4 separate regions of the Homo sapiens genome follow, and all the other regions are linked to region 2. The links are contacts of gene promoters, found by promoter capture Hi-C in blood cells and fetal thymus (Javierre and others, 2016). All regions are on one chromosome and are shown on one strand. Each heading gives the region's core, a stretch centred on a gene start or on the middle of the fragment in contact. The rest is flanking DNA. Distances are from core to core; before and after follow the strand shown.

Region 1 (3,098 bases), core at 566-3,065, 600 kb before region 2:
ACAGAGTGAGACCTGTCTCAAAAAAAAAAAAAAAAAACCCAACAAACAAAACTCCTTATGTGTGAATCCACTGTTGCATTCACCATTTAATATTGTAATGCTCTATTTTGTCTCACCTCCACTAGACTGTGCATTCTTTAAAGACCACAGCATATAGCCTTGTCATTCATGTGTCTTTCTTTGAGCATGTTCCAATCATGTGCAAAGAATTTTTTAATTAATGCTAATAACTAACATTTGTTGTACTCTATGATTAAGCATTTTTCATAAATTATTTTATCTAGCTCTGACATTCCAAGATTAAATGAGATAGCATGTGCATATTTTCTCATGCTTAACATATTCTCAATAAAAAATGTTGATTATCTTTTCCTGAGTTTTAGGACACAGCTTTATGCTATCTCTGTGATACCCTTTCAAACTGCCTCTGTGATATCCTTCCCCTGCCTTTTTTGGTTCCTTTCTTCTGTTTTCATAGCTCCTTATTCATACCTTTATTATATATGTGTGCGTGTGTGTGTGTGTGTGTGTGTGTGTATGTGTATAAAATATTATAGCAGACAAATGTCTCTGAGGGTAAAGATCTCATTTCTGTTTTCCTAAGGCCCAACACAGAGTCTGACACAGAGCAAAGGCCATATAAATATTGAAGGAGGGCCAGGTGCAGTGGCTCATGCCTGTAATCCCAACACTTTGGGAGGCCGAGGTGGGCGGATCACTTGAGGTCAAGAGTTCGAGACCAGCCTGGCCAACAGGATTAAACCCCGTCTCTACAAAAATTAGCCAGACATGGTGGCACGCACCTGTAATCCCAGCTATGTAGGAGGCTTGAGGCAGGAGAATCACTTGAACCCAGGAGGTGGAGGTTGCAGTGAGCCGAGATCATGCCACTGACTCCAGCCTGGGTGACAGAGTGAGACTCTGTCTTAAAAAAAAAATAAATGAATATTGAAGGAGAGAAGGAAGGAAATATTAGTTTGCATTTTTCTAAAGCATCTAAACTGCTAGAGATAAGTGTATTTATACCATGAAGACTTTCTAGATCTATTGTTTCATTTCATTCTCTTTATTCTTCATTCAGGATGTATGTTGTGTTCACAGCGAAGGTACTCCCTTCAGCCTGTCCCAGAAAGGAGGATTCCAAACCGATACTTAGGCCAGCCCAGCCCCTTTACACACCCACACCTCCTCAGACCAGGTAAGGCCTTTTAACTGTGCTATCTCCCCATTTAGGTTCTGTCTAGAGCAATGCTATGCAATAGAACTTCTTGCAGTAAGCTCTGGATCTGTGCTGTTCCATAAGGTAGCCACTAACCTCACATGGCCATTTTACACTAATAAGGTTGCTAGTACAGCTGAGGAGCTGAACTTTTTATTTTATTTAATTTTAATTAATTTAAATTTAAGCTTAACTACATGTGGGTACTGGTGCTTTATTGACAATACTAGTCTAGAACAAGGTTTAAATATGATAGACCTTATAATTCAGAATAATTAATGAAAGGTATGTATTTCAGGATGTTTTTAAAGCAAAGTTCTATTTCTAAGTCAGCTTTTAGAATTGTATACTATTGTGAATTACTGTGTTAAAGACATTTTAGAAAACATGTTTTTTCTTGAAATTATCAAATATTTACTTTAAAATTATAACCTATTTCTATATAGATTAAGCAAGATTTCCAGATTTGTTTGTCACAGATTTGAGAGGTAGTATCCCAGTTGATAAAGGTGATGCAAAAAAATGATAAAGGTTTGTTTTACTAATTTTTTTTTCTGCTATAAGATCCCAGCGTTGCTGCCAGAAGATGTCTTATAACTATTGCTCAAATTTAGACCTAAAGGTTTTTTGTTTTGATTTCTTGCACTTAAGGGGTGAACTATGACTAATGAATATCTCAGAGAGGAAGGTAGGGTAAAAGCAAACACATTGTAGAAAAAGCAATCAGGTTTTCAAGGAAAATTAATTGTTCTTTCTGCCATAAGAAATTAAATATGTATTTGCCATATAAGCATATATATTACTAATGGAAATTTACCTTTAGAAATATGTTCCTTTTTCACTATCCCCACTCAGTGAATGATACCAGTATGTTTCTCAGTGAGGGCTTCCTTTTGCTGATTTTTCATCAGACTCGAATTCCTGCTGGGAAGTCGGCTGAAACTAAGGAAATGCAGCTCACCACTGAAACCCACAAGAAATCAGAGTTTTTCAAAGCTGTAAGGTAAGCTTAATAGCAACCCAGTTGGTATTAATTTTAGTATTTATCTACCCTATCAACCTACCTGTAGACTCGAGTTATTTTTTTAAGTAGAATTGATAGTTTTACCAGCTTTGAAAATTACTGATTTCTTGTGGTGAGATATTTTTACATGGTAAGCTGCATTTTCCAGGCCTTAAACCTAGTAATTATATTGTCAAGATAATGGCCTCTGTATCTAGATTTTTTTGCTCTATACCTTAAGTGCATGTTAAGTATAAGTGAATGTAAATAAATATGTACACGTATATGTTCACATACATATGTATGTGAATATCTGGGGGAAAAGGGATGCCTGTCCTAATTTTACTCTCCTAGACGTGGGATTTTGGACATTGGGGTAAGTGAGAAGGGATGGAAGTAGATGGAATTTTAAAACAGAATTATTAGTATTTTAAACCTCAAACTATCAGATGTACCATTAGGTACAGATTTTTCTGCAGACAAAAGTATCAAAAGAATTAATCATTTGTGTTTCTCCTTCCAGAGATGCAAAACTTGTGGAAGTGTTAAAGTGATTGTAGGGTGAAGCAGAGTAAATTTTTAAGAAAAATTAAAAGGGGCCGGGCGCAGTGGCTCATACATGTAATCCCAGAACTTTGGGAGGCCAAGGTGGGTGGATCACCTGAGGCCAGGAGTTTGAGACCAGCCTAACCAATATGGTGAAATCCTGTCTCTACTAAAAATACCCCCCAAAAAAAAAATTAGCCGGGTGTGGTGGCATATGCCTATAATCTCAGCTACTGGGGAGGCTGAGGCAGGAGAATCACCTGAATCTGGGAGGCGGAGGTTGCAGTGAGCCAGAATTGTGCCACTGCACTCCAGCTTGGGGGACAGAGG
Region 2 (3,297 bases), core at 245-2,744:
AAGAGAATGGAGTCATGCTCACAAGTTCTTCAGTCCTCTGCTATCTCCTGCCATGGGGAAATATACTAGTCTCCTGGGAAATACACTAGTCTCCTTTTGACAGTGACTTTAGGGCCCTCCTCTTGGCATCACAAAACTTGGTTTCCCCAGTGTCCATCTCAAGCCCCTCAACACATACAAAAGTTTACCAATTAACATATGTGAAGAGCTTAGAAAAGCACCTCGGAGATGATAAGCCTGTATAATTGCTGGCAAAGTGCTGTGTGTTGGGGAGGGGTCATGCTACTCTGGCGATTCTTCCCGTTGAAAACTAGAGAGATACAGCGTTAAATGTGCAAGCGGCAGTGGGGAGTTAGAGGGGCCTTTGGCTAAAGTGCAGCATTCAGTGTTCACATACTTCCAGGCACATCTACTCAAAGCCCTCTTTGTGGCACTTTTGCTGGTTCCACAGAAAACTGGGAGTGGGAAGGGTGGGTTGTTGGGACGGTGTGTTCCACTCACATTTTTCACACAGTCTTCCGATGGCTGCAAGATGAAAGATGGTAAAAAGTACAATTAGAATAAAGGTTTTGAGAAAGAGGAGAAGTACATCCTCGAGCTGGGGGTAGGGACATGAGTAAGGACTGCAGTGAGTGAGACCTGCGGATAGCCATTTTATCATTACAAATTTCCATATGAACCAAACCTACATCCAAGCACCCTCCTGAATCTCCTCCAACGCCCTGGGCAAGCTCAGAGTTTCTCTGGACCTGGTTCAGACCCCACCCCCCGATACCTGCCTGGGGCTCCCAGCACGCGCACCCCCGCCCTCTTCTCATCAGAGGCCACAAACCTGCGCGCTCCTACAACACCCCGCGCCTGAGAGGCGGGAAACGTGGCGCCTGCGAGGCAAGCCCCTAAGGAAGAGACGGGAACCCCCGACCCCCCAGCTCCTAATACCACCCCTGCCCAGACAGCCAGGGGTAGGGCGCAGTCTCACCAACACCAGCCTGCTTGCGGCAAAAGATCAAATCAGGATGATGTTTAGCCATAGCTCCTAACTAAGCCGGCCACCGGAAGCTTCGGGAACTTCCGTCCGACCTTTAACCCCCATTGTTCCTGCCTCCACGTCGCTGTGATTGGTTCTCTAAGCTTCCGTCAGTTTACAATCCTTGCACCAGGCCCGTCTTGCTCTCGCGCGAGTTTTTGTCGCTGCTGGGCGGCCAGGTCCTGGCAGGTGCATGAAACTCTTAAAAACTCTCCCAGATTTGGATGGCGGAGATAACTAAAATTTGTTCTTGGGTAAAACATCTTTGTGCTTGGTATCTATTTCTGCAAGTGTCTTTGGGCAGTCCGATTTCCTCTTGCGTGTCTGTTCGTTGCACGTGAGCTCCGCCCATTGCGTTCACAGGGTTCTGGCGCCTCTAGGGAGGCCTCGCCTTCACCGTGACGCCCCACTCTTCCGGGCACGCCCCTGCCCAAAGGCTTTAAAGGCGCCGTGTGGGACGTCACTTTAATGCGACCTCATCTTTGTCAGTGCACAAAATGGCGCCCTACAGCCTACTGGTGACTCGGCTGCAGGTGAGCGAGCTCAGGGACCTCTGGGTTCACGGGGGCGGGGTGCCTCCTACTGTGCCGGCGGCTGTGGGCGAGGCAGGGCGAGGCGGGCCCAACCTGGGGCCAACTTCTCGTGTACCTGTCCCGGTTGTGGGCCCGGCACCCGTGCCCGCTTCTCTGGTGCCCTAGGTCAAGGCGTCCCCGGCACAGTCAGCTTTCCTGGCCCTGTCCCTGCCTCGCAAGAAGCGTGGGCCCAAGCAGCGGCGGCCGGGTGAAGAGCGGAGGCACCTCTTTCTTCTTTTTGAGGACAGCATTGCCTGCTCCCGTGGGGTGTGTTTCCATTCCTCAAGGTGAGGACAAGGTGACTAGGGGGCGCGGTCGTTGTTGAGTCTTCTAGGCCCAGTTCCTGAGGCCTCACTTCCCATCTCTTAGCAACAGAGGCATGACAGCATCTACGGTTGCCAGGCCTGGAGTCTGGAGAAGAAACTAGGACCCTGTACCACCTTTTGAGGACCCTGCGGAACGTGGAATGTCGGGGAGGGGGGCGGTCTTCTGGGCCCATACGTAGTAAATAATATAATAATAGTCTCTCACCTTTGCACAAGATTTGAGGCCTGTTTTAATTCTTCATAATATTATTTGATTCCTGTAATCGTAGGAATGAGGTGGTTTTTCTCATTTGATAGATGATAAAGCTGGTAGAAAGTAGGTGAAAGTTCTGATTCTCAAGAGTGTCACCGAAGTGCTGTGGCAGAAGCATGGGCCCTACCACCACTCAGTTCTTGTTTATGTCAGCCTGCCCTCACAGAACTTTATGAACCACGGTGCAATTATTTCTGTTTGTCAGAATGCAGTACGAATATTTTGAGCCTCACAATAAGTTGCTTGTCAAATATGGGAGGATAAGGAGACTCCAGTTTGACCTTGACTCCCCTGTTAGGAGCTATCTAGAAAGCTGACTGACTGCCAGATGATTTTTTCACTTCTAACTTGACAGCCCTGGGAAGGTGTTATACTCAGAGGTTCAATGTCAAATGTGTACTTTGTTAATAAAAATCAAGCAAGCATCTGTAGACATTCTCTGTCAACCTTTCACATTTAACTTTGTGAATTCCTTTTGGATCAAGTGGCGCAACTTTGATAATAGAATTTTACGAGTTGTTATGCGTTGTACTCTCAGGAAGCTTGTGGTACTTGAACTTATTTTTCATCACATTGCTTAAATTTAAACTTGAACTTATTTTTCATCACATTGCTTAAATTGAAACCATATGGTTTAAAGTAAAATCATCATTTATCTGAAAGAAAATATTTCTGATCTCAATTCCGGGCTAAGGGAAAGGATTTGCACCTAATTATCTCTTTACATCTTTTTTTTTTTTTTTTTTTTTTTTTTTTTTTTTTGAGACAGTCTTGCTCTGTCACCCAGGCTGGAGTGCAATGGCGCAATCTTGGCTGACTGCAACTCTGCCTCCTGGGTTCAAGTGACTCTCCTGCCCTCAGCTTCCCGAGTAGCTGGGATTACAGGTGTGCACCACCATGCTTGGCTAATTTTTGTATTTTTAGTAGAGACGGGGTTTCACCCTGTTGACCAGGCTGGTCACAAACTCCTGACCTCAAGTAATCGGCCTGCCTTGGCCTCCCAAAGTCCTGGGATTACAGGTGTGAGCCACCACACCTGGCCTCTTCACGTCTTTTGATTCTCTAGGTTAATGATGTGGAAATAGTTGTTTCTTCCTGTCTCATGATTTAAGGGAGTCA
Region 3 (3,208 bases), core at 131-2,630, 510 kb before region 2:
GCAGAGGTGGCAGTGAGCCGAGATCACACCACTGCACTACAACCTGGGCGACACAGCAAGACTCAAAGTCTCAAAAAAAAAAAAAAGTCTATCTGATCTAATTTTTGCTGGTCATTGTTTACAAAGGAAAGAAGCGTTAAGGAGTGAGGATTTTGTATGTTAGGCCCAAACATAATAAAAAGGAAATCATTGCCAACATCTAAATAAATAATTAATTGCACTAAAGAAATTTCATTTAAATCTCCACATATTTTATTACATGTAGTGGTCAGCACATAGTGATCTGATTATAGTCTTTGATGAACTGATTTCCTGTCCTTACAGTAGAAGGGACAAGAATGTTGATCACACCAGGAACAGTTGAGGTTACTTTTTCATCCGGGAACTAAAATGATTTGTTACTGAGGCCAGAAATGGAGGAAAGAAACTTTAAGTTTCTAGAAATGGAATTATAGGAACTTATTTTTCAGATCACTCACCTGCCTTTACAACTTTGTCTTGAGTCACTCCTGCTCACTCTGTTAGTTTACCTGGATGCTTTTTTTTTTTTTTAACTGACCACGGTGGCCAAAGCAGCCATGGCCCCGGCCAGTTTTCCATTTTTTTTCCTTATTCTGAGATGGAGTCGCCCAGGTTGGAGTGCAGTGGCGTGATCTCAGCTCACTGCAACCTCCGCCTCCCGAGTTCAAGTGATTCTCCTGCCTCAGCCTCCTCAATAGCTGGGATTACAGGCACCTGCCACCACACCCAGCTAATTTTTGTATTTTTAGTAGAGACACAGTTTTACCGTGTTGGCCAGGCTGGCCTCGAACTCCTGACCTCGGGTGATCCGCGTGCCTCTGCCTCCCAAAGTGTTGGGATTACAAGCATAAGCCACCATGCCCGGCCTGCTTTTCCATTCTTAAGTGTCCATGCTCTATTTTAGAGCCCTTAAATAGCCTAGTCTTTTTTGCCTAGAATATTCTTCACCTCTTCTCTTCCTTGGTTTTGTCTAACCCAGCACTGTCCAATCTGAATGTAAGCCAGTACAAACACGTATATAATTTTAAATTTTCTTTTTCCTTTTTTTTTTTTTTTGTTTTTTTCAGAGACGGGATCTCGCTTTGTTGCCCAGGCTGGTCTCGAACTGGCTTCAAGTGATCCTCCCACTTTGGCCTTCCAAAATGTTGCGATTATAGGCGTGAGCCACTGTGGCTGGCCTGAAATTTTCTAGTATCCACATTCATAAAGTAAAAAGAAAATAAAAAGGTGAAATTAATGTATTTTATTTAACCTTATATAGTCAAAATAGTTTTACTTCAACATGTAATTGATGTAAAAAAAAAATGAGATATTTTACATTCTGTCTTTGTACTATCTTTGAAATTCTGTGTATTTTACACTTACAGCACATCTGGATTCAGACTAGCCACATTTCAAGTGCTCAGTAGTCACATGTGGTTAATAACTACTTTATTGTGCAATGTAAGACTAACCCATAGTTGAGCTTTAGATCTTATCTTAAACTTGCTCAGATGTTTTCAACTTGAAAAGCACGAATCAAATATTTTCTGTTGGAAAGCAGTCATGGCTTATACTGGTCATGTATTGCCCTTGGCTTCTTTGAGCTTTGACACTGTTTATCTCTTCACACTACAGCCAAGGAAGATCAGCACCTACCATAATGTTTAATATAGATGCCGTGAACCCATCACAGAAAAACATATGCAGGGTTTCAAATGTGTTTGGGTGGGGTCTTTGATTACATGCTTGCCAGTTTCTCGGCCTTGCATTTTCACAAGGAGTTATACCCAGAGAAAATTTTACTTTCTTGGGGCTCTGTTTTGAAAATAGTTAATGATTTTTAATGATTTTATATAACCCTGATTTTTTTTTCTCTATATTTAAGTCAGTGTATATGTGTCTCTGGATATGAGAGAATGTACTTCTTAAAAGGACCACAGAAGACAAAGGCGATCTATATTGTCTTCTCTTAGAGTGAAATGCTTGAGACATCATATTAGGCTTTCAGTGGGATACCTGTTTTGTTTCATAATATATTTTGAATGTCAGATGAAGTAGGATATTGAAATCCTATAACAAAAACTTATGAAAGTATTTTCTAAGTCCTATCTTTTATTTATCCAATGAATATATCCTGAGCATCCTGGTAGGCACCAGGATAAAACAATGAGTGAGATCGGGCAGGTCTTTACCTTTTTTTTTTTTTTTTTTTTAAAGACAGAGTCTCTGTCGCTCAGGCTGGAGTTCAAGTGATTCTCCTGCGTCAGCCTCCCAAGTAGCTGGGACTACAGGTGTGGGCCACCTCACCCGGCTCATTTTTTGTATTTTTATGAGAGACAGGGTTTCACCATGTTGGCCAGGCTGGTCTCAAACTCCTGACCTCAGGTGATCCATTCGCCTTGGCCTCTCAAACCGCTGGGATTACAGACATGACCCATTCAAACTCCTGGCCTCAAAAAAACCACCCCCCTTGGCCTCCCAAAGTGCCGGGATTATAGGTGTGAGCCACCATGTCCGACCTCAAGTCTTTACCTTTAAGAAACACACTCTTAGGCCAGGCGTGGTGGCTTACACCTGTAATCCCAGCACTTTGGGAGGCCAAGGCGGGCAGATCACAAGGTCCAGAGATCGAGACCATCCTGGCTAACAAGGTGAAACCCCGTCTCCACTAAAAATACAAAAAATTAGCTGGGTGCGATGGCGGGCGCCTGTAGTCCCAGCTACTTGAGAGGCTGAGGCAGGAGAATGGCGTGAACCCAGGAGGCGGAGGTTGCAGTGAGCTGAGATCGCGCCATTGCACTCCAGCCTGGGTGACAGAGTGAGACTCCATCTCAACAACAACAAAAAAAAGAAACATACTCTTAGGCGGGGCGCGGTGGCTCATGCCTGTAATCCCAGCACTTTGGGAGGCTGAGGCGGGGGGATCATGAGGTCAGGAGATCCAGACCATCCTGGCCAACACAGTGAAACCCCATCTCTACTAAAAATACAAAATTAGCCAGGCGTGGTAGCACGCACCTGTAATCCCAGCTACATGGGAGGCTGAGGCAGGAGAATCACTTGAACCTGGGAGGCAGAGGTTGCAGTGAGCCGAGATCCTGCCATTGCACTCCATCCTGGACAAAAAGAGCAAAACTCTGTCTCAAAAAAAAAGACACTCTTGGCCAGGTGAGGTGGGTCACACCTGTAAACCCAAGACTTTGGG
Region 4 (3,037 bases), core at 23-2,522, 620 kb before region 2:
ATATTGTTAACCATTTTTAGGTTGCTTCCCTGTTACTTAAAAAATTAGAACCAAGGCAGGGCGCAGTGGCTCATGCCTGTAATTCCAGCACTTTGGGAGTCCGAGGTGGGTGGATCACGAGGTCAGGAGATTGAGACCATCCTGGCTAACATGGTGAAACCCCTTCTCCACTAAAAACACAAAAAAATTAGCCGGACGTGGTGGTGGGCACCTGTAGTCCCAGCTACTCAGGAAGCTGAGGCAGGAGAAGGGCGTGAACCTGGGAGGCAGAGCTTGCAATGAGCCAAGAGATCGCACCACTGCACTCCAGCCTGGGCAACAGAGTGAGACTCTGTCTCAAAAAAAAAAAAAAAAAAAAAAAAATTAGAACCAAAAACCTACCTTGTCACAAAATATTTGTTGAGTCCCTATAAAATGTGCAAAGTCTAGGTATTCTAGAATATATTGAAAAGAAAAGACAAGCCATAATTCTAGTTTAGAATGTTTTTCTTACAAAAAATTTTCAGCTGACACATAGGTTAAATATAATTTTGCCTTCATACACATTTGCCAAATAGCAAAATATCTAGGGCTCAGAAAATACCACTCTGATAAATGGTCCTTTTAAAAAAAAGGTAACTACTTTTTGGGCTTTTGCTTACCTTTTCGCATTCTCCTTCTTAATAGACATAACTTCCACTTTAAGATCCAAATAGATAACAATGTTTAAGTTTCTAAATAATAAAACAGCTATTTTCTTGTCGATTTAAGACAGCTAATCAGAAAATTTGCAAAAAAAAAAAAAGCCTTTTAGATATGAAGGCAGAAGAGAGAAATAAAAAATTATGAAGAAAGCATTCTGGGCCAGGCATGGTGGCTCACGCCTTAGTCCCAGCACCTTGGGAGGCTGAGAGATCAGTTGAGGTCAGGAGTTCGAGACCCACCTGGCCAACATGGCGAAACCCCATTTCTACTAAAAATAGAAAAATTAGCCAGGCATGGTGGGATGCACCTGTAATCCCAGATACTCGGGAGACTGAAACAGGAGAATCGCTTGAAGCCAGTAGGCTGAGGTTGCAGTGAGCCGAGATTGTACCAGTGCACTCAGACCTGGGTGACACAGTGAGACTTTGTCTCAGGAAAGAAAAAACAAACAAATAAAAGAAAACATTCTTAAACATGTATGTTCCCCTTCATCTGTCTCTCAACTTCAGCTACTGGTAACCTTCTCCTAATCTTACACGTCCTTTAAGCAAATATGCTAACCCAACACCATGATTCACACTCACAAATATCACTCAGGTAGTAGAGCAAAAAAATTAAATTACTGACCTGGGATACTTCATTTACTCTGCAAATAATAAATAAAGTACCTACAATGCATATGACACACTGTAAGGCAATGATGAAGACTACGGATGCACACCATCACGGAGCTTACCACTTACAGGCCATACATGTAACTTTTATTGTCATGTATTCTAAAACAGTGAACATCCAACCCTAAATTCTCAGTTCTAAATCAGAATCCAGAGAATTCGGGTCTACAAAGTTATAAAGATAAAGAGGTCTTAAAAGGTCTTATTTCCAAGTGATCTTGGGGAAATCAGGAGTGATAACTGGAGAGCAGCAGTTTAAAAACAACCCCTAAGAAATCTTATAGTACTTTATCACAAAACATACAAATGAAATTAAAACTTACCTTGGTATTTTCTTCTGATTTAGCTTTCTGAGTAGCAGGTGGTACTTTACCACCCATGCTTGAAGAAGATGAGAAAAAAGATATTTGTTTAGAAAATTAAAATTCACTGTCACGCAACGTATTTACACCTAAAAAATAACGTTAGACATTTAGATGACTACCTTTTCAAAATTTAAAAGTAAACTCTCAATTAATCTGAATGCTGTGGTATTATTATGGTTAAATTTTTTCCAGCTTAAAATTTATTTTAAGGCTACTGGCTAATGAACCCCTTTCTTTGCCTCAATGAGTCAAATAAACATAATGTATAGCTTCTCTGTGCCTCTTCCCAGAGGAAAAGAGGCAGATATGTCAACATGCAATGACAAAATCATTTGCACAAGCTGTTAACTTAGAATTCAACTCAGTAGGTATATCTGAATCCTAAATTTGAAACTTGAAATAAGAGTTCAATTAAATTCAAATATGCAGTTTATGAAGTAACTATACCGTCATGATATAATTCAAAATGTTTGTGTCCTGTGACTGAGACCTATGAGAATTTTTCTTGCTTATATTTGCATGCCCATCACATTATAGATTTTCTCCTTATACACCCCTCCCAACCTCATCCATTAATACTTCCTCCTGACCCTACAAACTCTTCTTTCCCAAATAGTTCAGGGCAACACAATTCATTATAAGCAAATAACTAGAAGAGAAAAATTACAAAGAATTAGCGTTACATGCTCCATTTGGTGCAGACCCTATAGTATATGGGCTACCTGCAACAATCCAGTGACTAAAATGGTTGATAGACTTAAGAGCACTCCACAACAGTTGGAAGCAACGTAGACATTATTAAAATTTGCCTTAAAAACAAACAACAAAAGCCATTAACTATGTAAAACAAGGGGATATATTAACTTTGAAAACAGAAAGGGTTCTTTTTTTTTTTTTTTGAGATGGAGTCTTGCTCTGTCACCCAGGCTGGAGTGCAGTGGCACAATCTTGGCTCACTGCAACCTCCACCTCCTGGGTTCAAGCGATTCTCCTGCCTCAGCCTCCCAAGTAGCTGGGACTACAGGGTGCATGCCATCACACCCAGCTGATTTTTTGTTTTAGTAGAGACAGGGTTTCACCATGTTAGCCAGAACGGTCTCGATCTCCTGACCTCGTAATCCGCCAGCCTTGGCCTCCCAAAGTGCTGGATTTACAGGCATGAACCACTGCGCCCGGCCTGATTCTTTGTAACTAGAGTTGTCATATCCACACTTACATTCATTTCAGTTGGGTGGAATTTGTGGTCATAAGGGTATGTGCAGGCTGAATTTAAATGGGCATCAGTTTTCTGAAGTTCTTTTATCAATTTACACT

Evidence for each region. Contacts are between HindIII fragments. The CHiCAGO score rates a contact against its expected background, and 5 or more counts as called.
Region 1: a fragment that was not itself captured here is called in contact with the fragment with the promoter of ACO2 in region 2 in 3 of 17 cell types (total CD8 T cells, non-activated CD4 T cells and total CD4 T cells); the score reaches 8.8 in total CD8 T cells.
Region 3: a fragment that was not itself captured here is called in contact with the fragment with the promoter of ACO2 in region 2 in 1 of 17 cell types (fetal thymus); the score reaches 5.4 in fetal thymus.
Region 4: a contact is called between a fragment that was not itself captured here and the fragment with the promoter of ACO2 in region 2, in 2 of 17 cell types (naive CD4 T cells and naive CD8 T cells). The highest score is 5.2, in naive CD4 T cells.

The regions. Positions count from the first base shown.
Region 1 is chr22:40,867,918-40,871,015 of GRCh38, forward strand. XPNPEP3 (X-prolyl aminopeptidase 3) reads left to right here. Exons shown (of 10, transcript NM_022098.4): 2 at 1,082-1,198. Among named protein-coding and RNA genes, the nearest start is that of DNAJB7, 7.4 kb to the left of the region's middle. The HindIII fragment of the contact is 820 bases long and covers 1,406-2,225 here.
Region 2 is chr22:41,467,623-41,470,919 of GRCh38, forward strand. It overlaps ACO2 (aconitase 2), which reads left to right and starts at 1,495. Exons shown (of 18, transcript NM_001098.3): 1 at 1,495-1,560. The coding sequence starts at 1,525. It overlaps PHF5A (PHD finger protein 5A), which reads right to left and starts at 1,070. Exons shown (of 4, transcript NM_032758.4): 1 at 980-1,070; 2 at 502-525. The coding sequence starts at 1,031. RefSeq lists enhancers at 800-1,469, 1,039-1,600, 1,601-2,162. The HindIII fragment of the contact is 1,589 bases long and covers 1,130-2,718 here.
Region 3 is chr22:40,954,199-40,957,406 of GRCh38, forward strand. All of the region lies in intron 2 of RBX1 (ring-box 1), which reads left to right. Among named protein-coding and RNA genes, the nearest start is that of RBX1, 4.4 kb to the left of the region's middle. The HindIII fragment of the contact is 7,256 bases long and covers 1-3,208 here.
Region 4 is chr22:40,849,142-40,852,178 of GRCh38, forward strand. It overlaps ST13 (ST13 Hsp70 interacting protein), which reads right to left. Exons shown (of 12, transcript NM_003932.5): 2 at 1,682-1,739. Among named protein-coding and RNA genes, the nearest start is that of ST13, 6.0 kb to the right of the region's middle. The HindIII fragment of the contact is 7,823 bases long and covers 1-3,037 here.